Linked DNA regions of Homo sapiens: regions 1, 2, 3, 4, 5 and 7 are each linked to region 6. The links are contacts of gene promoters, found by promoter capture Hi-C in blood cells and fetal thymus (Javierre and others, 2016). All regions are on one chromosome and are shown on one strand. Each heading gives the region's core, a stretch centred on a gene start or on the middle of the fragment in contact. The rest is flanking DNA. Distances are from core to core; before and after follow the strand shown. Region 1 overlaps NEMF (nuclear export mediator factor). Region 2 overlaps KLHDC1 (kelch domain containing 1). Region 3 overlaps KLHDC2 (kelch domain containing 2). Region 4 overlaps MAP4K5 (mitogen-activated protein kinase kinase kinase kinase 5). Region 5 overlaps NEMF (nuclear export mediator factor). Region 6 holds the start of VCPKMT (valosin containing protein lysine methyltransferase). Region 7 overlaps NEMF (nuclear export mediator factor).

Region 1 (3,226 bases), core at 247-2,746, 290 kb after region 6:
TGTAATCCCAGCACTCTGGGAGGCCAAGGTGGGAGGATTGAGCTCAGACATTGGAGAGCAGCCTGGGCAACATAGCGGGACCCGGTCTCTATTATTTAAAAAAAAATAAAGAATTCGTTCTCCCAAACTTTACTTTTGTGCCATAGGAAAAAATGTCTTGATTTCTGCCTGTTTGAATAATGCCAAGGGTATTAGGGGTATATCTTATATACACAGTAACCTGTAATCAAAATACCTTTCTATATAAGGAGTGGGAGTTAGGAAGACAGGAGAAGTAATTTTGGGGCATGGAACGCATTGTAGTGGGATAGGCCTAGGGTGGTAGACTATGGGAACTTCAGCTAGCTAGATAACAGCATAGATGGGGTCAGGATAGTGAGTGTTGGGAAGTAAGAGAGGGATGTCATGAGGTAGGAGAAATCTAATTTTTAAAAAATCTGTTTTGCCAATAAAAGGAAAAGCAAGCATTGAAGAAATTAGATAATGTTCGAAAGGATCACGAAAACAGATTGGAAGCTCTTCAGCAGGCTCAGGTATTATGTTTGGCTTTCTCAGTGCTTTTTCAAAAATGTTAACTTTAACTGGCAATGTAGTAAATGTGTGTGGTTTGTTTTTTAAGGAAATAGACAAACTGAAAGGAGAGCTCATAGAAATGAACCTACAAATAGTTGACAGAGCCATTCAGGTAGTTCGAAGTGCTTTAGCTAACCAGATAGATTGGACAGAAATTGGGTTAATTGTGAAAGAAGCCCAGGCTCAAGGAGACCCTGTTGCAAGTGCAATCAAAGAATTAAAACTACAAACAAACCATGTTACAATGCTGCTAAGGTAAGTTTGACTCTTAGTCAAGCAGTTAATGCTTGTCTTTATTTTGTTATTTTAATTGTTCACTGTATTAAACATTTTTTCTTCATATTTTGAAATTCTCAAAGAAAGGGAAAAAACTAATTTAGATTAAAATAAATAATGAAACTTCCAGTACTGTAAACCATTTATAATTTTATTGAAGAAGAAAATTGAAAATAAAAGTGATGTCATTGACGTTAGTGAAATGCTATTGAATATTTTTAATAGAAATCCATACTTGTTATCAGAGGAGGAAGATGATGATGTTGATGGTGACGTCAATGTTGAGAAAAATGAAACTGAACCACCAAAAGGAAAAAAGAAAAAACAAAAGAATAAACAGCTGCAGAAGCCTCAGAAAAATAAGCCCTTACTTGTAGATGTTGATCTCAGCTTGTCAGCATATGCCAATGCCAAAAAGTAAGTCATTTAACTTTACATTTTAGGCCAAGTGTTATCTGCAATAAATTAAGGAATTAAGGACATTTTAAAAAATTTTAAATTTCACTTGTACATGCATACTTTTTTTGGGTGAAAATACTTTTTTAAATTTAGTTTTGTTAATTATACAGTTTGTTCTGATTTGTTCTGTATAATTTGAGAATTTGTCAAGTTAGAACTAAGTAGAAAACTGAAGAATAAATATTATACTTAAAATTTAAGAGAAATATGTTTTTCTAGGTATTATGATCACAAGAGATATGCTGCTAAGAAAACACAAAAGACTGTTGAAGCTGCTGAGAAGGTACTGAGTATTTCTTAGAGTGAATGTTAGTTGTTTGTGCCTGCGTAATTTAATGGACATAATTATTTCTTCTGTTTAAATGAGGTTTTCTAATTCAGAAGTATCTTTCAAACTTAACTTTGCTTTAAATATATGTATTTCCAGTATTTTTTCCCCCCAGGACTGCTCCTCCCCTATTCTTCCTCATCTCAGTAAATAACACCTTCATTTTTCTGTTCACTCAGGTTAAAAATGTTTGTGATATCCTGGACTCTTTTCCCATAAATCATGCAATCCATCAGTAAATCCTTTGGTTCTTTCTTTAAAGTACAGCCAGAATCTGGCTACTACTCATTATTTCCACTGATCAGTCCCCTATCACCTCTGTGTTCACATGGACTATGACAAGTAGCCTCTTATTGGATCTCTCTCCTCCTCCTCTTTTCCCACTACAGTCTGTTCTCCACATAGCAGCCATTGTGACCCTTTTTTTTTTTTGCGATGGAGTTTCACTCTTATTGCTCAGGCTGGAGTGCAATGGCTTGATCTCAGCTCACTGCAACTTCTGCCTCCCAGGTTCAAGCGATTCTCCCACCTCAGCCTCCTAAGTAGCTGGGATTACAGGCGCCCGCCACCACACCCAGCTAATTTTTGTAGTTTTAGTAGAGACAGGGTTTCACCATGTTGGTCAGCTTGGTCTCAAACTGCTGACCTCAGGTGATCCGCCCGCTTCAGGCCTTGACCTTCGGCCTCCCAAAGTGCTGGGATTACAGGTGTGAGCCACCATGCCTAGCCCCGTTGTGATCCTTTTGAATCAAAAGTGAAGACTGGGTGTGGTGGTTGACGCCTGTAATTCCAGCACTTTGGAAGGCCGAGGCCGGTGGATCGCTTGAAGCCAGGAGTTTGAGACCAGCCTGGCCAACATGGTGAAACCCCATATCTACTGAAAATACAAAAATTAGCCTGAGGTGATGGCGGGTACCTGTAATCCCAGCTACTTGGGCGGCTGAGGTGGGAGAATCTAATGAACCCGGGAGGTGGAGGTTGCAGTGAGCTGAGATCATGCCATTGCACTCTAGCCTGGGAGACAGAGCGAGACTCCGTCTCAAAAAATATATTAAAATAAATAAATCAAAAGTGAAGTCCTTTTTCTCTTCCAGTTGCTTCCCATCTTAATACAATTCAGAGCCCTTCTCCTATCCTGCAAGAAGGACGGGAGATCTCCTCCCCTCTGACCTCAACACCTGCATTCCTCCTCTCATACACTCTTTCTGGCTACACTGGGATCTTAGCTGTTCATAAAATAATGACACGTGCTCCCCTCTCAGGGTCTTTGCCCTTGCTGTTCTCTCTACCTGGAATTTTCAGTTTGACCCCTCTCTTCATTTACATATCCACTTAAATGAGATTTAATCAGAGAATCCTTCCTTGACCGCTCATTACTAACGATAGTACCACCCTGAATCTCTCTTTATTTTGCCTTATTTTCTTCTTGAAAAACACTCCCCCCAGCCCAACATATGTTTATTTGAATATTTTTTCTGGATTCCCTCTAGAATATAGATTGCATGAAAGTAGAATCTTTGTGTTGTTCATTGCTGCATCCCAATCCCTGGAATATTGCCTGGCACAGAGTAGGCACTTTAATAGCTGTTA
Region 2 (2,751 bases), core at 71-2,570, 360 kb after region 6:
ACACCACCAAATGCTGGCAAGGATGTGAAGCAACAGGAACTCTCATTCATTGAGTATAGCCACTTTGGAAGGTAGTCTGGTGGTTTCTTAATAAACTAAATATATTCTTACCATATGATCCAACAATCTTGATCCTTGGTATTGATCCAAATGAACTGAAAACTTATGTCTATACAAAACCTTGCACACAGATGTTTATAGCAGCTTTATTCATAATTGCCAAAACTTGGAAGCAACCAAGATGTTTTTCAGTAGATGAATGGATAAACTGTGGTATGTCAGACAATGGAATATTATTCAACGCTAAAAAGAAATGAGCTATCAAGCTTCGAAGAGAAATGGAAGAAACGTAAATACATACTGCTAAGTGAAGAAGCCAGTATGACTATACGACATTCTGGAAAAGACAGAACTATGTAAACAGTAAAAATGTCAGTGGTTTCCAGGGGTTAGAGAAGAGGGAGGAATGAACAGGCAGAGCACAGAGGATTTTTTAGGGCAGTGAAACTATTTTGTATGATACTACACTGGTGAATACATGTCCTTATATACATGTCAAAACCCATAGAATATACAACACCAAGAATGAGCCATAATGTAAACAACAGACATTGAATCATTTGAAAAAATCATGCTGTGCCCACATGCTGGACTGTATGGCAACTTCATCAAACTGGAAATTCCAAAAGAATTAAATTAATACAATGGAAAGAGAGGCAAAAAAACGTGAGTAGGGGGATCATCTGCTCCTTAAAATTGCTTCTTTTCCTCCCAGAAATTCTGAAATCTAAATTTTAATTCATCAATAGTATGCACTACCCTGACAATTATTCTATCATGGTGACTTTATTTCTCTCAAATACATGTACAAATAACACACTGGTGGCCGGGCGTGGTGGCTCACACCTGTAATCCTAGCACTTTGGAAGGCCAAGGTGGGCGGATCACTTCAGGTTAGGAGTTCGAGACCAGCCTGGCCAACATGACAAAACCCCGTCTCTACTAAAAATACAAAAATTAATGCTGGGCGTGGTGGCATGCACCTGTAATCCCAGCTACTCAGGTGGGTGAGGCACAGGAATTACGTGAACCTGGGACGCAGAGGTTGCAGTGAGCTGAGATCGCACCACTGCATTCCAGCCTGGGCGACAGAGACTCTGTCTCAAAATAAAAAACCCAAAAAAACAAAAAAAACCCACATTGGTGAAAACATCACTGTGTCAGCTGACAGTACAAAGTTCCAAAGTATGTGTGTGTATATATATATATATATATATTTTTTTTTTTGGACGGAGTCTCACTCTGTTGCCCAGGCTGGAATGCAGTGGTTCAATCTTGGCTCACTGCAACCTCTGCCTCCCACATTCAAGTGATTCTCCTGCCTCAGCCTCCCGAGTAGCTGGGACTATAGGTGCATGCCACCACACCCAGCTAATTTTTTAATTTTTGGTAGAGAAAGGGTTTCACCATGTTGGCCAGGCTGGTCTCGAACTCCTGGCCTCAAGTGATCTGTCCACCACAGCCCCCCAAAGTGCTGGAATTACAGACATGAGCCACCATGCCTGGCCTCTAAAAAGTATTTTTACAGGTGCTTTTGCAAAAATACTATTTGGAAAAAAGGTACACTAATTTTGATGTGTTATTTATCACATTAAAAATAACAATAACCTTAAAAGAATCCTTTCTGGCAATGGTAAGAATATTCTGAGATTTTTTTTTTTTTAACAGATAGGGTCTCTTCATGTTGCCCAGGCTGGTCTTGAATTCCTGGCCTCAAGCAAGCCTCCTGCCTCAGCCTCCCAAAGTGCTGGGATTATAGACGTTAGCCACTGCACCTGACCAGATTTTCATTCTCTTAAAGCCCATGAGAGTGTGTATTTTAAGGGGGCTAATCCAACTTTTAATGTTCCAAATACATCATTTAAAAATAGAGGTGCTCTTCTAAGAGGCGGGACAAGGCATTCACATAATCCAGAAGCCATTTTAAAACGGTGTTCCTTCTGCTCAATGTCATCTATCAGTGTCTAATTAGGTTTTGATATATTTTTGCCTTAAATATAAAAGGCTGATGCTAAATTCATCAGCACCACAGCATAATAAGGTAATTATTTCCAAGATGTGAATTATTTGTGAGATTCATTTTCTAAATCTGTTATTCAGCCTAAAAATAGAAAAATGAAAACTGACAATGAAATATTTTTTGTATAATCAATTCTAATGACTGCTTTACACTGACAAAAAAGAAAACAGTAATTATATACACTTTGTACAATAAATAAAACGTAAAAAAATATTTCAATACATAGAAGCTTTACACATCCAAAATACAGTACATATATATGAAATATCTCTCTAAAATTCAATGAAATACTACAAACTACTATAATTTTCATTATAAATTATATATATTTCAATATAGAAATGTTTTTCTTTAACATTTTAAATTTCAGAGATAACTTGCATGGTAATATTGTGGAGAATAATTTTACATACCAAGCTTTTTAGTAATTAATTGTAATTAATAATTCAATGGAAGGGCATGATTGTGATAATATGAAGAAAAATTTCTTAATTATGCCAAAAGTACCATTTTTAGGAATATAAAGATACAGTGTTCCATTTCTGTATAGATGGTAATGCTGAAAATACAAGGGAAGGTATTAGATTTTTTCAGTATCTGTCTTGAGTACAACTCTGTAGAATGGTGGGGGCCAAACTGAGGGATTTCTATAAAGTCAAATTACTAGATTA
Region 3 (3,002 bases), core at 54-2,553, 340 kb after region 6:
AACAATACTTACTGAGTTATTTTCTATATGCCAGGTGCTGTGTATCTCTCTAGCAGGTGCTACTGCAGTGGTTTACTTACTATATGTGTCCCTTCTAGAATGTGAGTTCCAGGAGGTGAGAACTATATCATTCTTTCTGTCTCCAGTGTCCAGCCAAGTGCTCAGCACATAAAGTGCTTACTAAGTTGCCAACTTAATAGACTCCTATGGATTCATTTATTTGGCAACTCAGTAAGCGCTAATATATGTCATATGTATCATTTCTGATTGACTTAATCTGTCTCTTATTGGTCTGAAAGAGAAGAAGTGATATATTTTTTCCTACTTGGAACAAAATACGGCAAAGTCTGAACAGCATTGTCTTTGGGCACCACTTTATAGGAATGTTAACATGTAAAGTTTTGTCAGTTTTAATTTATCCTTACAGCTTTCTGACTGGTTGCCTGCTCATTTTTACCCTTCCCTCCATTACATCTTGTCTTCATTTTGTCTGCAATTTTATTACTAATGTTCATCTAACATTTAAGGTTCTAAGAGAACAAGTAGCTGCAAAAAGCACAAAGAAAAACCACCCAGGAAGTTACTGCACACAGGTTACCAACAAAAGTTGATTTTACATAATGCCTAGGTAAATACAGATTGGCACACAAAATACTAAAATGCACATTCATATCATAATCAAGTACACATCATTTTTAACTGTGACACAAATAAGTCTGGGGCTAACCTTAGAAATTTGCAGTTGTTTGAAAGATAATAAGAATAAAAATGCCTCAAGCCATAATCCTTAGAAACACTAACCTTATTGGTATTGCCTCTTGAATGGTGTCCTCCAAACAAGTACAGCACCCTGTCTACACACACAGCACAGCTTCCTGACATAGAAGGAGGAACATCACCTTCAGTGTTGATTTTTTTCCTGAGGGGGAATAAATTAAATGTATGTAAGTTAAAGGGAAGAAATGCAAAAGTCTATTAATTTTTCTTCTTCTACTTATATCCTCACAATAAAGGAATAAAATGAGAAGGCAGAGTAGACAGTGCCGCTAGGATCTCTCCTAGGTCTAACCTTAATTCAAGGAATGTGCTTTTCCCTCTTTACCCATTCCACAAACAGTGCCAGCTGGCCCCATGTGTACAGGCATGAGAGATTCTGAAAGCCTAAGTCATATTTTATTATTCTAGGAGCATACCATTTTATGTTTCTCAGACTAAATTGTTTGCTATTTATTTACATGGCCATAAGTTGTTTTGCTTTTGAGTGGGCCAGGAGCCCAGAAGGAAAACCTCAACATTCCCAGTGCTGATAGATTAATTCAGTGTTTTTTCTTCAGTCCCCTTTTAGCTGTTCATATGCATCAGATTCAGTCCTTTATGTAACACTACAAACAGGTAGTGCCATGTGCCAGGCATTCCTGAGTGCTTTGTATGTATTAACTCATTCTGAATCTAAAAATTGATCTGAATCAACCTAAGGAATCTAAGATTTAAAATTCTAATAGTATACTCAAGGTCTTCTGCTAAAACTGTCAGATATAATAATATTTATCTTTGCTAAACTTAAAAGTTTTAGAAGGCTCATTTTTTTAAAAGTTACTATTTTTGGCTGGGCGCGGTGGCTCATGCCTGTAATCCCAGCACTTTGGGAGGCTGAGGCAGGTGGATCACAAGGTCAAGAAATCGAGACCATACTGTTTAACATGGTGAAACCCTATCTCTACTAAAAATACAAAAAATTAGCCAGGCGTGGTGGCGGGCGCCTGTAGTCCCAGCTACTCAGGGGGCTGAGGCAACAGAATGGTGTGAAGCCAGGAGGCGGAGCTTGCAGCGAGTCGAGATTGCGCCACTGCACTCCAGCCTGGGCGACAGAGTGAGACTCCCTCTCATTAAAAAAAAAAAAAAAAAAAAAGTTATTATTTTTAAATAGAAACAGGGTCTCACTGTATTGCTCAGGCTGGTCTTGAACTCCTGGGCTCAAGTGATCCTCCCACCTCGGCCTCCCAAAGTGCTAGGATTACAGGTGTGAGCCACCATACCTGGCCTTAAATTTTTTTTTTTTTTTTTTTGAGATGGAGTCTGACTCTTTCGCCCAGGCTGGAGTGCAGTGGCGCGATCTCTGCTCACTGCAAGCTCTGCCTTCCGGGTTCACGCCATTCTTCTGCCTCAGCCTCCCGAGTAGCTGGGACTACAGGCGCGTGCCTCCACGCCCGGCTAATTTTTTGTATTTTTTAGTAGAGACAGGGTTTCACCATGTTAGCCAGGATGGTCTGGATCTCCTGACCTCATGATCCACCTGCCTCGGCTTCCCAAAGTGCTGGGATTACAGGTGTGAGCCACCGTGCCCGGCCCCTTAAAAATTATCTTTAAAAATATGTAGCATTCTGCTTTTAAGAGAATACAATTATAAATTTCCAATTCTCTAGAAAAAGATTAAGAAACAGCTTCATATTAACACCAATTTGTTATATACAGAAATAATCATGACTTATTTTTAGTTTGTAACTGTTAAATGTTTTTGTTTTTTGAGAGGGAGTCTCACTGTATTACCCAGGCTGGAGTGCAATGGCATGATCTCAGTTCACTGCAACCTCTGCCTCCCGGGTTCAGGTGATTCTCCTGCCTCAGCCTCCCTAGTAGCTGGGATTATAGGCACCTGCCATCATGCCTGGCTAATTTTTGTATTTTTGTAGAGATGGGGTTTCACCATGTTGGCCAGGCTGGTCTTGAACTCCTCACCTAAGGTGAGCTGCCTGCCTCGGCCTCCCAAAGTGCTGGGATTACAGGCGTGAGCCACAGCATCCAGCCTAACTGTTAAGTGGGACTACTACGCTAATTCTGAGATCTACAGTAAGTAAAATATTTAAAGCATAAAGTTCTCACAAAGCACACCATGGGGAAAACTACTTTGTAAATCCGCAACCATGGCTAACCCAGCATTTTGAGAAACACCTTGATTCTACCAGGGACATGCTCTTGACTACTACTGTTATGAAACTGCAAAA
Region 4 (2,875 bases), core at 187-2,686, 310 kb before region 6:
ATGTGCCAAATTATCTTCGTAATTTTAATTGTTACACAAAAGTTTGTTCCTCCTAGGCTACCATCTTTTCTTGCCAGTAAACCTTGGAATAATTACAGGAATCCTCCTGGGGAAAAAAAAATGCCTTTACAACACCTCTTAAAAATAAAATCAGTAACTAGGTTTTTTATTTGTCACAGTTAGTGAAACACATGTGATTTGTCATTGTCAAATACTTTTATTTTTATTGAGCTTAATTATGTTCCCAGAACATTCTTACATTAACTTTTTACAAAAAGTTAATAGTCTAATAAAACAGTTAATTTTCAGTTACTTTCCTCCATCACTTTTAATTATGCTTTTCTAACTCTAATACTTACTTGTAATGGTTAAATACTAAGAATTTTATGTAAGAATTGACTCACAGATCCTAAATATTCAATGTGTGGTTAAATGTTGGATTGTGGGGCAGGTTTATTTTATTTTATTTTTTATTTATTTATTTTGTTTGAGACGGAGTCTCGCTCTGTCGCCCAAGCTGGAGTGAAGTGACGTGATCTCGGCTCACTGCAGCCTCCACCTGTGGGGTTCAAGCAATTCTCCCGTTTCAGCGTCCTGAGTAGCTGGGGCTACAGGCACAGGCCACCACACCTGGCTAATTTTTGTATTTTTGTAGAGACAGGGTTTCACCATACTGGTCAGGCTGGTCTCCATCTCCTGACCTCAGGTGATCCACCCACCTCGGCCTCCCAAAGTGCTGAGGTTACAGGGATGAGCCACTGCGCCCGGCCAGGTTTATTTTTTAAAATTTCTTTTGTTACAGGGAAAATATGAACATAAAAAATGCTTGTTTAAAGCTACTTCTGAATATGTAACAGTATTTAAACAACAATGCTTTTAATGCAAAAACCCAGTTATATATGTTTTTATGATTTTATTCATTTAAGACAAAAGATACACTGTATCTTTTGTATGAAAGAAATGAATATGCCAACATCCACCTTATCAGAAGTTAGTTCATGTTTAAATGAATGGCTTTTATATGTATCTTTGAAGACTTGCATAACCCTACCTCAGTAAATTACTTGAACTTAGGCATGTCTTAGCCACAAAAATGTTGAGAAATCGTGGTCTAGACAGTGGAATTTTGCACTAGACACTTGAATAGGCTTATATTATTTATTAAAAGTAGAGAAAATTTATAGTGAAATGCTCTGTGCTTTATATTAGTTTCACTTCTCCCTTATCATTTTTAGTATGCCTTCAAGACAGTGTGTTGGCTTTCTGGAAACATGGGATGCAGGGTAAAAGCTTCAAGTCAGATGAGGTAAGCCTTCTCAGATTACCTCCACTGACTCCCACTAACAATTTTAAATGTCGAAGCACTCGTTTTATGCATTTCCTCTCTGAACCTACATTACTGTGTTTAGTGCTTTTAATACTATGAACTGGTAGAACAAAAAAGCCAGTATTTTCCCTTCAACTATGTTCACTTCTGTATCATAGTTCAAAATTCTCAGTGGCCACCAGGAATTGCAAAATATAAGTTCATGCAATTTCATTTATCTAATTTGTAATTTGTAAATATGGTTGCTAAGCTTGTAAAACTTTTCTAAATTTATTAAGTGTTTTCCATAATCTATAAATATCTGGCTTCTTTTTAAATATATTTTAAAATCTAAATTAATACATAATGGAGCATAAGAATAAGGGAATCTAAGAAAATTGACTCATTTAGTAACTATTGAGTACCAACTATGTTCAAGACACTATTATTGTAAATAATATCAAACTTTAAATAATACCTACTGTGTTCCAGGCACTTTACAAATATTTGCTTATTTCAGGCTCAAAATAATCCAGTAGAAGTAGATACTATTCATATTGCCATTTTTACAGCTACAGAGTGGTTAAGTAACTTGCCCAGAGTTACATAACTAGTGAAGTGGAAGAGTCTGGATTTGAAGGGTCTCTTTAAATCACTTCTAGCTGAGATAATTACGTCTCATGCAGGAGATGGGATTTGGGCCTCCAATTTGAGGAATGAGTCCTACTAGCTAAGATAATACTAACAGAGACATTTCACATTTACGTGAATACTTGTGTGATTCTTCTAACTATGGCCTAACAAGTTTGTGAACTTACTTAAAGCTCAAAAACTTCTTCTGTTTGCATTTACCTTTAGTTTTATCCACACTCTTACTTATATATAAATGAATATTCCTACCTCTTATATGAATGCAGAATTAGAATGCTTCCAGGAGGAAATGACATAAATCAGCTGTCTTTGAATATATAAGTTTATCTAGTTACTGATACGTGTCACTAAATGTCACCAAGTCCCTGCACTTGATGAAACCTACAGTCCTACTTATTATCATATGGTTAATTATTCTTAAATGCTATTTTCATTATGTCACTCCTATGGTTAGAAATCTACAGAAGGTCCTTGTTTCTTACTGTATCAAATATTGATTCCATTTCCGAAATATCTATTTTTAACTCTTTTTTTTTTTTTTTTTTTGAGATGGAGTCTCACACTGTCGCCCAGGCTGGAGTGCAGCGGCACAATCTCAGCTCACTGCAACCTCCACCTCCTGGGTTCAAGCGATTCTCCTGCCTCGGCCTCCTGAGTAGCTGGGATTACAGGCATGCACCAACACACCCAGCTAATTTTTGTATTTTTAGTAGAGATGGGATTTCACCGTGTTGGCCAGGCTGGTCTCGAACTTCTGACCTCACGTGATCCACCTGCCTTGGCCTCCCAAAGTGCCGGGATTACAGATGTGAGCCCCACACCCGGCCTATTTTTAATTCGTCTTGATTACCTTTTTTTCAGTTTATGTTCTCATCCTTCAACTTGGGCCTAGCTAAAGTCTTGACCTCTTTCATAAAG
Region 5 (3,180 bases), core at 525-3,024, 320 kb after region 6:
GTAGCATACTACAGCTTTGAACTCCTGGGCTCACGCATTCCTCCTACCTCAGCCTCCTAAGTAGCTGGGACCACAAGTGCATGCCACCACACTAGGCTATAATCTTTATAAAGATGTTTTATGATCTTTCCTTCTTCCATACAGGTCAGATTTTCCTATGCTTTTTTCCAGTGAGCTGCAAATGACATGTGCATAAGGAAGGGAAGACTCAACCTAATAAAAATATAAATTCCCCTCATATGTAAATTCAACATGACTTTAATCAGAATTGAGATTTTAATGCTTGATAAAATAATTGTAAATTTATTTTGGAAGGAGTAATGCTTGAGAATAGCTAAGGAAATAAGGAGGGATTTCCCTATGAGGTAGTAAAATATTTAATGCTAGAATTTTTACAACAGCATGTTATTAACATAGGAATAGCTAGACAGAAAAAAATGAGACAGAATAAAATCTAGACAGAGGACCACTACCTGATATTTAGCATTTTAGTACGTGATAAAATAATATTGTAGATCATTTGAGAAGATATGAAATATTCAAAATGATGGCTAACCATGTGAAAACGGTACCACAGTGAATTGCAGGTGGAGAAAGTAAAGAACCACCAGTAAAATTAAAAAACAAATGACAAATCTGGAAAAAAAAAAAAGTGATGACAGAAATGCTGTGTAAACCTGGGGAATTTTTTTTACCCATCAAATTAATAGATACTACATTGTCAGTTTGAGTGTACAACATGGGAATTCCAGTCAAAAGTCTTAACAGTGCTTCTGCCCTTTGACTCAGCAATTCCTCTTATAGGAATTTATCCTAAAAAAAATTATGGGTACGCAACGAGGACGTTGAAGTTTATATTTGTAGTAGCAAAAAAATACTGCAATTAATCTTAAGTGTACAACAATGTGAAATAACAATAAATGATGCATTTTTACAATGAAATATTCTGCAGATAGGTTAAGTTTCAAGGCAAATCCTGATAGAATGTTTATTAAAATACATTAAACTTTTAGATTATTTTCTGGGGAATTGTCATTTTTACCACTTTGAGTCTTCCTGTGGAAAACTATAATTGTGCAATTATAAAACTATAACTGAGCAATCTGCCCGCCTCAGCCTCCCAAAGTGTTGGGATTACAGACTTGAGCCACTGCGCCCTACCTATTTTTGAAACTTTCATTTCCTAGCTGTTACTTGCTGGTACATGGGAAGACAACTTTCATGTTGATCAAGTAATGGGCAATCTTATAGAGCACTTACTAATTTTAATACTTCATCTGTAGGCAGTCATATCGTCTGCAAATTATGGCTTTTCTTCTAGTCTTAATATCTTTTTATTTTCCCCATGTTTTTTTTTGCAGTGACTGAAAAGCAAAAATATAATGTTTCATAGAAGTAGTAATCGTGTATATCTTTGTTAATTCCATTACAGGAACTGTTTCTAAGATTTTATCATTGCGGGATGTTTCCTTTGGGTTGTTGAAGGACACCTTTTTGAAAGTTATTTTTAATAACGATGAGTTAAATGTTACTGAATGGTTTTTCTGTGTCTATTGCATTCTTTTTGTTTGTTTTTTTGAGACAGGGTGTCACTCTGTTGCCCAGGCTGGACTGCAGTGGTGTGGTTATGGCTCACTGCAGCCTCGATCTCCTGGGCCCAAACCATCCTAATACCTCAGCTTCCCAAACAGCTGGGATCACAGGCATGTGCCACCATGTCTGGCTAATTTTTATTTTTATTATTTTTAGAGACAGGCTCTTCCTATTTGCCCAGGCTGGTCTAACTCCTAGGCTCAAGTTATCCTCCTGCTTGTTATCCAAAAGTGCTAAAATTAACAGGCATAAGCCACCATGCCCAGACTATTGTATTATTTTATCTGTTAGTCAGTATGGTATATTAGTTGAGAAAAATATATTAATTGGCTTCTAATTTCTCATACCGTCTCTGCCTGTTTTTTGTGTTTACATTATACCAGTTTCATAAAATAAGTTTAGGACCTTTCCCTCTTTTTCTGCTCTCTAGAACTTTGTATAAAATGGAGATTGTGGCTGGGCACGGTGGCTCATGCCTGTAATCCCAGCACTTTGGGAGGCTGAGGCAGTTGGGTCACCTGAGGTCAGGAGTTCAAGACCTGCCTGGCTAACATGGTGAAACCCCATCTGTATTAAAAATACAAAAATTAGCCGGGTGTGGTGGGACCTGTAGGTCCCAGCTTCTTGGAGGCTGAGGCAGGATAATTGCTTGAGCCTGGGAGGCAGAGGTTGCAATGAGCCAAGGTCATGCACTGCACTCCAGCCTGGGTGACAGAGCAAGAACTCTGTCAAAAAACGGAGATTGTTCCTTGAAATTGGATAGCATTTGCTTATAAAACTAGACCTAATGTTTTGGGTTTTGTGAGGAGACTTTTTTTTTTTTTAGACTGGGTCTTACTTTGTTGCCCAGGCTGGGATGTAGTGTTGCAATCTTGGCTCACTGCAGCCTCGACCTCCTGGGCTCAAGCAATCCTCCCATCTCAGCTTCCCTAGTAGCTGAGACCACAGGTGTGTGCCACCATGCCTGGCTATTTTGAGGAGGTTTGTAAGAACTAATTTCAATTTCTTTAATGATTTTAGGTTTATTCAGGTTTTCCGGGATTTTTTTTGAAGTTGGTTTTCCGAAGTTGTATTTTCTAAGAAACTCTGTTGTCATCAGGTTTTCCATTCCTCAGTCCTGTTTATTGGTTACAATATTCTTTCTCAATTTTTTTTTGAGGTACAGTGTACATAGTAGTAAAATGCACAAATCTTTGGCTCAGTGAATTTTTTTTTTTTTTTTTTTTTTTTAAATGGAGTCTCGCTCTGTTGCCCAGGCTGGAGTGCGGTGGCGCGATCTCGGCTCACTGCAACCTCCGCCTCCTGGGTTCAAGCAATTCTCCTGCCTCAGCCTTCTGAGTAGCTGGGACTACAGGCGTGCACCACTATGCCCAGCTACTTTTTGTATTTTTAGTAGCGACAGAGTTTCACCATGTTGGTCAGGATGGTCTCGATCTCTTGACCTTGTGATCCGCCTGCCTCGGCCTCCCAAAGTGCTGGGATTACAGGCGTGAGCCACCATGCCTGGCCTCAGTGAATTTTTATAAGCACACACATCTGTGAAACCACCACTCAGATACAGATACTTTACTTGGAATGTTTCCAGCA
Region 6 (2,928 bases), core at 140-2,639:
ATGGGAGGGGTATATGGTGTTACTGATTTTTAAACCTCTTTGACCATCTTCTAGTTTTTACTTCTAGTTTTTACATCTAGGAGAATTGTGAATAACACCAACTGTTCTTAAACTCTTTAATGCCATGTCTTAAATGCCGGTATTTGCTGCTGAAGACAAAAATGAAAAGTAGGATGAAAATAATAGAATGGCACTGTAAGTGTTTATTATTTTGTCAAAATGTAAACAAAGACTACATAACCCAATGATGGAGGGAAAAAGGGCATGTATCTCATTCAGATGTGCCTTTTGTTTTTGCAGACTATGACGTCTTTAGCTAATGAATTGCCTATTGTTATGGAAAACAGTTAATATGCCATGTATGTACAGTTTTGTTTATATTGTATATTTAAAGATACTGCTAATAACCTATATAAATTTAAGTGACTTGAGGCCTATAATACAATCTGCTACTTTACTAATTCATAAATTCAAAAAAAATTCTATGGCATAGGAACCAACTGCCTTGCCTTCAAGACCTAGTAACTTTCTCTATAAATCTCGTGTTAACTGAAATTTTTTTTAAATATATTTTTTAGATTGGTAATATTTAAACCAGCAAATACTTAAAGCTTTATTAAACATTTTAATCAGATAAGTGAGTAAAGCTTTTATTTGCCATTTGGATGCCTTCGTTCAAAGTGATAGAGTGTTTTGCTGATAGTGCTGTAGCAGCAGTTGTAAAGTAGCCAAAAGCCACGTTGTTTATTTACTGGTTTGTGGCCTTTTACTGTGCTTTGTATCAGAGTTCTTAACAAGATTAATAAATCACCCCAGTCTTAATTTTTAAAAGACTTTTAAAATATGTGTTTTCATTATAAGGAACAAAGGGGGAGATTGTTGAGTCCTATAGACACACACACACACACACACAATTTTTTCTTCACTGTTAAATGTGAGCTGCAGGCTTCTAGCAACCACTTTTATGAATTCATACAAAAAACTAGGAGCATACTAGGAACTTGAAAAGGAAGATTGTAAGATTATAGCCATCTTTGGTAGGATCTTGGAAGCTGATTGCATTTAAGCCTTGTAACTACTATGTAAATCAAGTGTCCAACTTGGTAAACTCTGAGGTTGGCTTTGTTTTTTAAAGAGCAGATTATAATAGTTTTGTCTGGGAAAGTGATTTAAACGGCCTCTTCGTTAAGCCAAACGTGTGATTTAGGGTAGAGGGAGGCTGCCAAGCGCGTCGGGTAAGCAGGGGCCCCACGCTCGGCCCCGCCCAGGTAACGCTGCCTTCCGGGCTTTGTTAACTCGCGCGCGCTGCGTCGCCAACTCAGCGGCGGGCAGGGGGCGGAGCCGCAGGGCGGGGCGGTGCGCGTTGATGTGACGTCCCTGCGCGCGCCGCTTTCTGTTGCCGGGCGCAATGGCGGATACGCTGGAGTCCTCGCTGGAGGACCCACTGCGGAGCTTTGTGCGAGTTTTGGAGAAGCGGGATGGTACAGTGCTACGACTACAGCAGTATAGCTCCGGTGGCGTGGGTTGCGTTGTGTGGGACGCTGCCATTGTCCTTTCTAAATACCTGGAAACGCCCGAGTTTTCTGGCGACGGGGCCCACGCGCTGAGCCGGCGGTCGGTGCTGGAGCTGGGTTCGGGCACCGGGGCCGTGGGGCTCATGGCTGCTACCCTCGGGTAAGAGCTGGCGGGCGGGCGGGATGTGGGGGCGCCTTCTTGCTGGGGAAATCCGGATTACAGGCTTTCCCCCCTGTGCCTACACCTCAGTCGACGTTATTTTATAGGGCTGATGTTGTAGTCACCGATCTTGAGGAATTGCAAGACTTGCTGAAGATGAATATTAATATGAACAAGCATCTTGTCACTGGTTCTGTTCAAGCCAAGGTACTGAAATGGTTTGTATGGCCTTTCAGCTTGTTTTAAGATATTGATTTGTAGTTTGTTTTGAATTGCGTTTCATTAAAAGGATGGAAGGGGACTTTCCGGTTCTTTATAAAACAAGAGTATTTTGAATTATTAAAACAATTGAAATATTTGTTTGGCATTTTTAAGGGGGGAAGAAATAGAAGGCTTTCCTTCTCCACCCGACTTCATACTGATGGCCGACTGCATATACTATGAAGAGGTAAGTATCCAGTGAGCGAAGTCTCTTCACTTAGAAGATGAACCTTATTCCATGAATTCTAAAGCACACGTTTCTTCACATTTTAACATCTTTGAATCCGGGATTTGCCTTATAGTTGATGCAGTAAAGAGAAGATAAAAGTCACCAGGGACCATATGTATATACGCTCATCATTATCATACCGACCTGGTGAAGCATGTTGAGAAAAGTGTTATATGCATTTTACTAGAGGCTTCTGTAAAAATTTTAAAGGATTTTGCCAATTGGATGTTATGAAAAGCCAAAATCCTCTCTTTTTCCCTTGGTTGTTCCCACGGAACATGTTAACCATGACATTGAGAATTAAGTTATAAATAATTCATTGTTCTTTTCTTTAAATACCAGTTTGGGCCGGGCGCGGTGGCTCACGCCTGTAATCCCAACACTTGGGAGGTCAAGGCAGGTGGCTCACCTGAGGTCGGGAGTTCGAGACCAGCCTGACCTACATGGCAAAACCCTGTCTCTACTAAAAATACAAAATTAGCCAGGCGTGGTGGTGCATGTCTGTAATCCTAGCTATTTGGGAGTCTGAGGCAGGAGAATCGCTTGAACCTGGGAGGCGGAGGTTGCAGTGAGCCGAAATCATGCCATTGCATTCCAGCCTGGGCAACAAGAGCAAAACTCTGTCTCAAAAAAAAAAAAAAAAAAAAAAAACATCAGTTTGTATAGTGTTGTGGGCATCGATTATTTTAAAAATAATTAGCATTGAACCAAGTTAGGGTCAGATTTAACTTTTGTAGGGAAATCGTTGATTATTTAAATCCCAA
Region 7 (3,009 bases), core at 316-2,815, 310 kb after region 6:
CCAGGAGTAGAGAAAATGTTTTAAATTCGTAAGTATGTGGAAATTAAATACCACAGTTATAAATAAGCAATGGAACAAAGAGGAAATCACAAAAGATGCCACAAAACACTTTGAGATGAACGAAATGAAAATACAGTGTGTCAAAACTTATGAGATGCAAGAAGAGCAGCCCTTAGGGGGTAATTTATAGCTATAAATGCCTATATTTAAAAAGAAGAAAGATCTCAAATCAGTAACCTAACTTTGCACCTTAAGAACTAGAAAAACAACCCAAAGCAAGGAGAAGGAAGAAAATAGTAAATATTAGAGTAGAAATGAACAAAACAGAGAATAGGAAAAAAATAGAGAAAATGAACAAAACCCAAGTTGGTTCTTTGAAAAGATAAACAAAATTGATAAACCCTTGGCTAGACTGACCAAGAAAATAGAGGACTCAAATCCCTAAAATCAGGAATGAAATAGGGAACATTACTTCCGACTTTACAGATATTGAAAGGATTATAAGGGAATACCATGAACAATTATATACCAACAGATTATGTAACCTAGATGAAATGGACAAATTCCTAGAAAGATATAAATACTAAAACTGACTCAAGAAGAAATAGAGAATTGAAATAAACCTGTAAGTACAGAGATTGGATTAATAATAAAGAAAAACATTAAAAAAATACTCATCAAAGAAAACCCTAGGCCAGATGGCTTCACTGGTGAATTATAAAGAAGGTTGAATGCCAGTTCTTCACAAACTCTTCCAAAAAATAGGATCAGTGGGAACACTTCCTAACCCATTCTACAAGGCCAGTATTACAAAACCAAAGATAACACAAGAAAACTACAGACCAATACCGGTTATAAATATAGACAAAAATCTTTGACAAAATATTAGCAAACTGAATCTAGCAGCATATTAAAATGACTATATACGATGACAAAGCGTAATTTATCTCAGGAATGAAAGCTTGGTTCAGTATATGGAAATTAATGTAATATAATCTACTAATAAAGGACAAAAAACACACATGGATTATCTCAACTTATGAAGAAAAACCATTTGACAAAATTCAACATTTGTTTGTGATAAAAACACTCAGCAAACTAGGAATAGAAGGGATATTCCTCAACTTGGTAAACAAGCATTTATGAAAAACCGACAGCTAACAATCATACTTAATGCTGAAAGATTGGGTACCTTCCTCCTCCCATCAGTAATAAGACAAATATGTCTGTTCTTGCCATTTCTATTTAACATTATACTGGTGGTTCTATATAGGTCATTAGGCAATAAAAAGAAAAAAAAATCCAAATTAGGCAAAAGTAAAGCTACCTATGTTTACAGTTGATATGGTCACACACATTTAAAAAACCTAAAGAATCTACCAGTAATTATCAGAGCTAATAAACAAGTTCAGCAATGTCCAGGATATGAGATCAGTAAACAAAAATCAGTTGTATTTCTGTACACTACCAGTGAACAATCTGAAAAGGAAATTAATAAAACAATTCAATTTATAATTAGCATTAAAAAGAATAAAATACTTAGGAATCAATTTACCAAAAGACTTACAACGCTTATAGATAACAAACTATAAAATTATTTTAAGGAATTAAAGACCTAAATTGGACATCCCATGTATATGTATTGGAAGTCTTAATATTGTTCTGATAGCAGTACTCCCCAGTAATCTAGGAATTCACTGTAATCCCTCTCAAAATTGCAGCTGCTTTTTTTGTTTTGTTTTGAAACAGGGTCTCCTGTCACCCAGGCTGTAATAAAGTGGTGCGATTGGCTCACTGCAGCCTTGAACTTTCAGGCTGAAGCGATCCTCCCATCTCAACCTCCTGAGTAGTTGGGACCATAGACATTTGCCACTGTGCCCAACTTATTTTTGTGTTTTTTGTAGAGATGAGGTTTTGCCATGTTGTCCAGACTAGTGTCGAGCTCCTGAGCTCGAGCAGTCCATCCACTTTGACCTCCTAAAGTACTGGGATTACAGGCATGAGCCACTGCCCCTGGCCCTGCATTTTATTTTATTTTATTTTTTCAGAGATGGAGAAGCTGATTCTAAAATTCATGTGGTAATGCAAGGAGACTCAGATTAGCGAAAGCAGTATTGAAAATGAAGAGCAAATTTTGAAGGACTCATGTTTCCTGATTTTAAAGCTTTCTACAGAGTAACAGTAATCAGGACACTGGTACTGGCATGAGGATGGACAAATAGATCAAGGGATAGAATCGAGATTCCAGAAATAAACCTGTAGTTTATGGTCAGTTAATTTTCAGCAGGGGTGCCAAGACCAATGGGGATAGAATTTCCTCTTTCTTTTTTTCTTTTTTTAATTTTTTGTTTTTGGTTTTTTGAGATGGAGTCTTGCACTGTCACCCAGGCTGGAGTGCAGTGGTGTGATCTCGGCTCATGCAAGCTCTGCCTCCTGGGTTCACACCATTCTCCTGCCTCAGCCTCCCGAGTAGCTGGGACTACAGGCGCCCTCCACCACGCCCGGCTAATTTTTTGTATTTTTAGTAGAGACGAGTTTTCACCGTGTTAGCCAGGATGGTCTTGATCTCTTGACCTTGTGATCCGCCCGCCTCAGCCTCCCAAAGTGCTGGGATTACAGGCACGAGCCACCGCACCCGGCCTCTTTTTTTAAATAGACATTTTTTTCGACCAGTTTTAGGTTCACAACAAAATTGAGCAGAATGTATAGTGATTTCCCTCATACCCCCTGCTGCATGCATGCGTAGCCTCCCCTATTATCGATATCCCCCACCAGAACGGTACATTTGTTACAACTAATGAACCTACATTGACACATCATTATGGCCCAGAGTCCATAGTTTGCATTAGAGTTCACTCTCTTTTTTTGAGACAGAGTCTCGCTCTGTTGCCCAGCCTGGAGTGCAGTTGCGTAATCTCAGCTTACTGCAACGTCTGCCTCCCAGGTTCAAGCGATTCTCCTGCCTCAGCCTCCAGAGTAGCTGGAATTAACAGGCACGTGCCACCACAC

Evidence for each region. The method cuts DNA at HindIII sites, captures the fragments that hold promoters and counts their contacts. A CHiCAGO score of 5 or more calls a contact.
Region 1: a fragment that was not itself captured here is called in contact with the fragment with the promoter of VCPKMT in region 6 in 14 of 17 cell types (naive CD8 T cells, total CD8 T cells, activated CD4 T cells and 11 more); the score reaches 18.5 in naive CD8 T cells.
Region 2: a fragment that was not itself captured here is called in contact with the fragment with the promoter of VCPKMT in region 6 in 1 of 17 cell types (naive CD8 T cells); the score reaches 5.0 in naive CD8 T cells.
Region 3: a fragment that was not itself captured here is called in contact with the fragment with the promoter of VCPKMT in region 6 in 13 of 17 cell types (monocytes, naive CD4 T cells, total CD4 T cells and 10 more); the score reaches 12.3 in monocytes.
Region 4: a fragment that was not itself captured here is called in contact with the fragment with the promoter of VCPKMT in region 6 in 1 of 17 cell types (M2 macrophages); the score reaches 5.1 in M2 macrophages.
Region 5: a contact is called between a fragment that was not itself captured here and the fragment with the promoter of VCPKMT in region 6, in 1 of 17 cell types (total CD4 T cells). The highest score is 5.0, in total CD4 T cells.
Region 7: a fragment that was not itself captured here is called in contact with the fragment with the promoter of VCPKMT in region 6 in 11 of 17 cell types (activated CD4 T cells, total CD8 T cells, naive CD4 T cells and 8 more); the score reaches 10.9 in activated CD4 T cells.

The regions. Positions count from the first base shown.
Region 1 is chr14:49,826,656-49,829,881 of GRCh38, reverse strand. It overlaps NEMF (nuclear export mediator factor), which reads left to right. Exons shown (of 33, transcript NM_004713.6): 12 at 456-533; 13 at 620-828; 14 at 1,075-1,266; 15 at 1,528-1,591. Among named protein-coding and RNA genes, the nearest start is that of NEMF, 25 kb to the left of the region's middle. The HindIII fragment of the contact is 5,222 bases long and covers 1-3,226 here.
Region 2 is chr14:49,752,596-49,755,346 of GRCh38, reverse strand. KLHDC1 (kelch domain containing 1) reads right to left here. Exons shown (of 13, transcript NM_172193.3): 13 at 2,197-2,751. Among named protein-coding and RNA genes, the nearest start is that of KLHDC2, 14 kb to the left of the region's middle. The HindIII fragment of the contact is 1,983 bases long and covers 329-2,311 here.
Region 3 is chr14:49,772,478-49,775,479 of GRCh38, reverse strand. KLHDC2 (kelch domain containing 2) reads right to left here. Exons shown (of 13, transcript NM_014315.3): 3 at 802-919. Among named protein-coding and RNA genes, the nearest start is that of KLHDC2, 5.8 kb to the right of the region's middle. The HindIII fragment of the contact is 4,163 bases long and covers 1-3,002 here.
Region 4 is chr14:50,424,338-50,427,212 of GRCh38, reverse strand. MAP4K5 (mitogen-activated protein kinase kinase kinase kinase 5) reads left to right here. Exons shown (of 33, transcript NM_006575.6): 31 at 1,236-1,306. Among named protein-coding and RNA genes, the nearest start is that of CDKL1, 29 kb to the right of the region's middle. The HindIII fragment of the contact is 287 bases long and covers 1,293-1,579 here.
Region 5 is chr14:49,791,379-49,794,558 of GRCh38, reverse strand. All of the region lies in intron 26 of NEMF (nuclear export mediator factor), which reads left to right. Among named protein-coding and RNA genes, the nearest start is that of KLHDC2, 25 kb to the right of the region's middle. The HindIII fragment of the contact is 8,583 bases long and covers 1-3,180 here.
Region 6 is chr14:50,115,033-50,117,960 of GRCh38, reverse strand. VCPKMT (valosin containing protein lysine methyltransferase) reads left to right here and starts at 1,389. Exons shown (of 6, transcript NM_024558.3): 1 at 1,389-1,674; 2 at 1,782-1,892; 3 at 2,050-2,122. The coding sequence starts at 1,409. It overlaps SOS2 (SOS Ras/Rho guanine nucleotide exchange factor 2), which reads left to right. Exons shown (of 23, transcript NM_006939.4): 23 at 1-831. RefSeq lists an enhancer at 1,393-1,452. The HindIII fragment of the contact is 15,614 bases long and covers 650-2,928 here.
Region 7 is chr14:49,809,719-49,812,727 of GRCh38, reverse strand. All of the region lies in intron 18 of NEMF (nuclear export mediator factor), which reads left to right. Among named protein-coding and RNA genes, the nearest start is that of NEMF, 42 kb to the left of the region's middle. The HindIII fragment of the contact is 1,203 bases long and covers 964-2,166 here.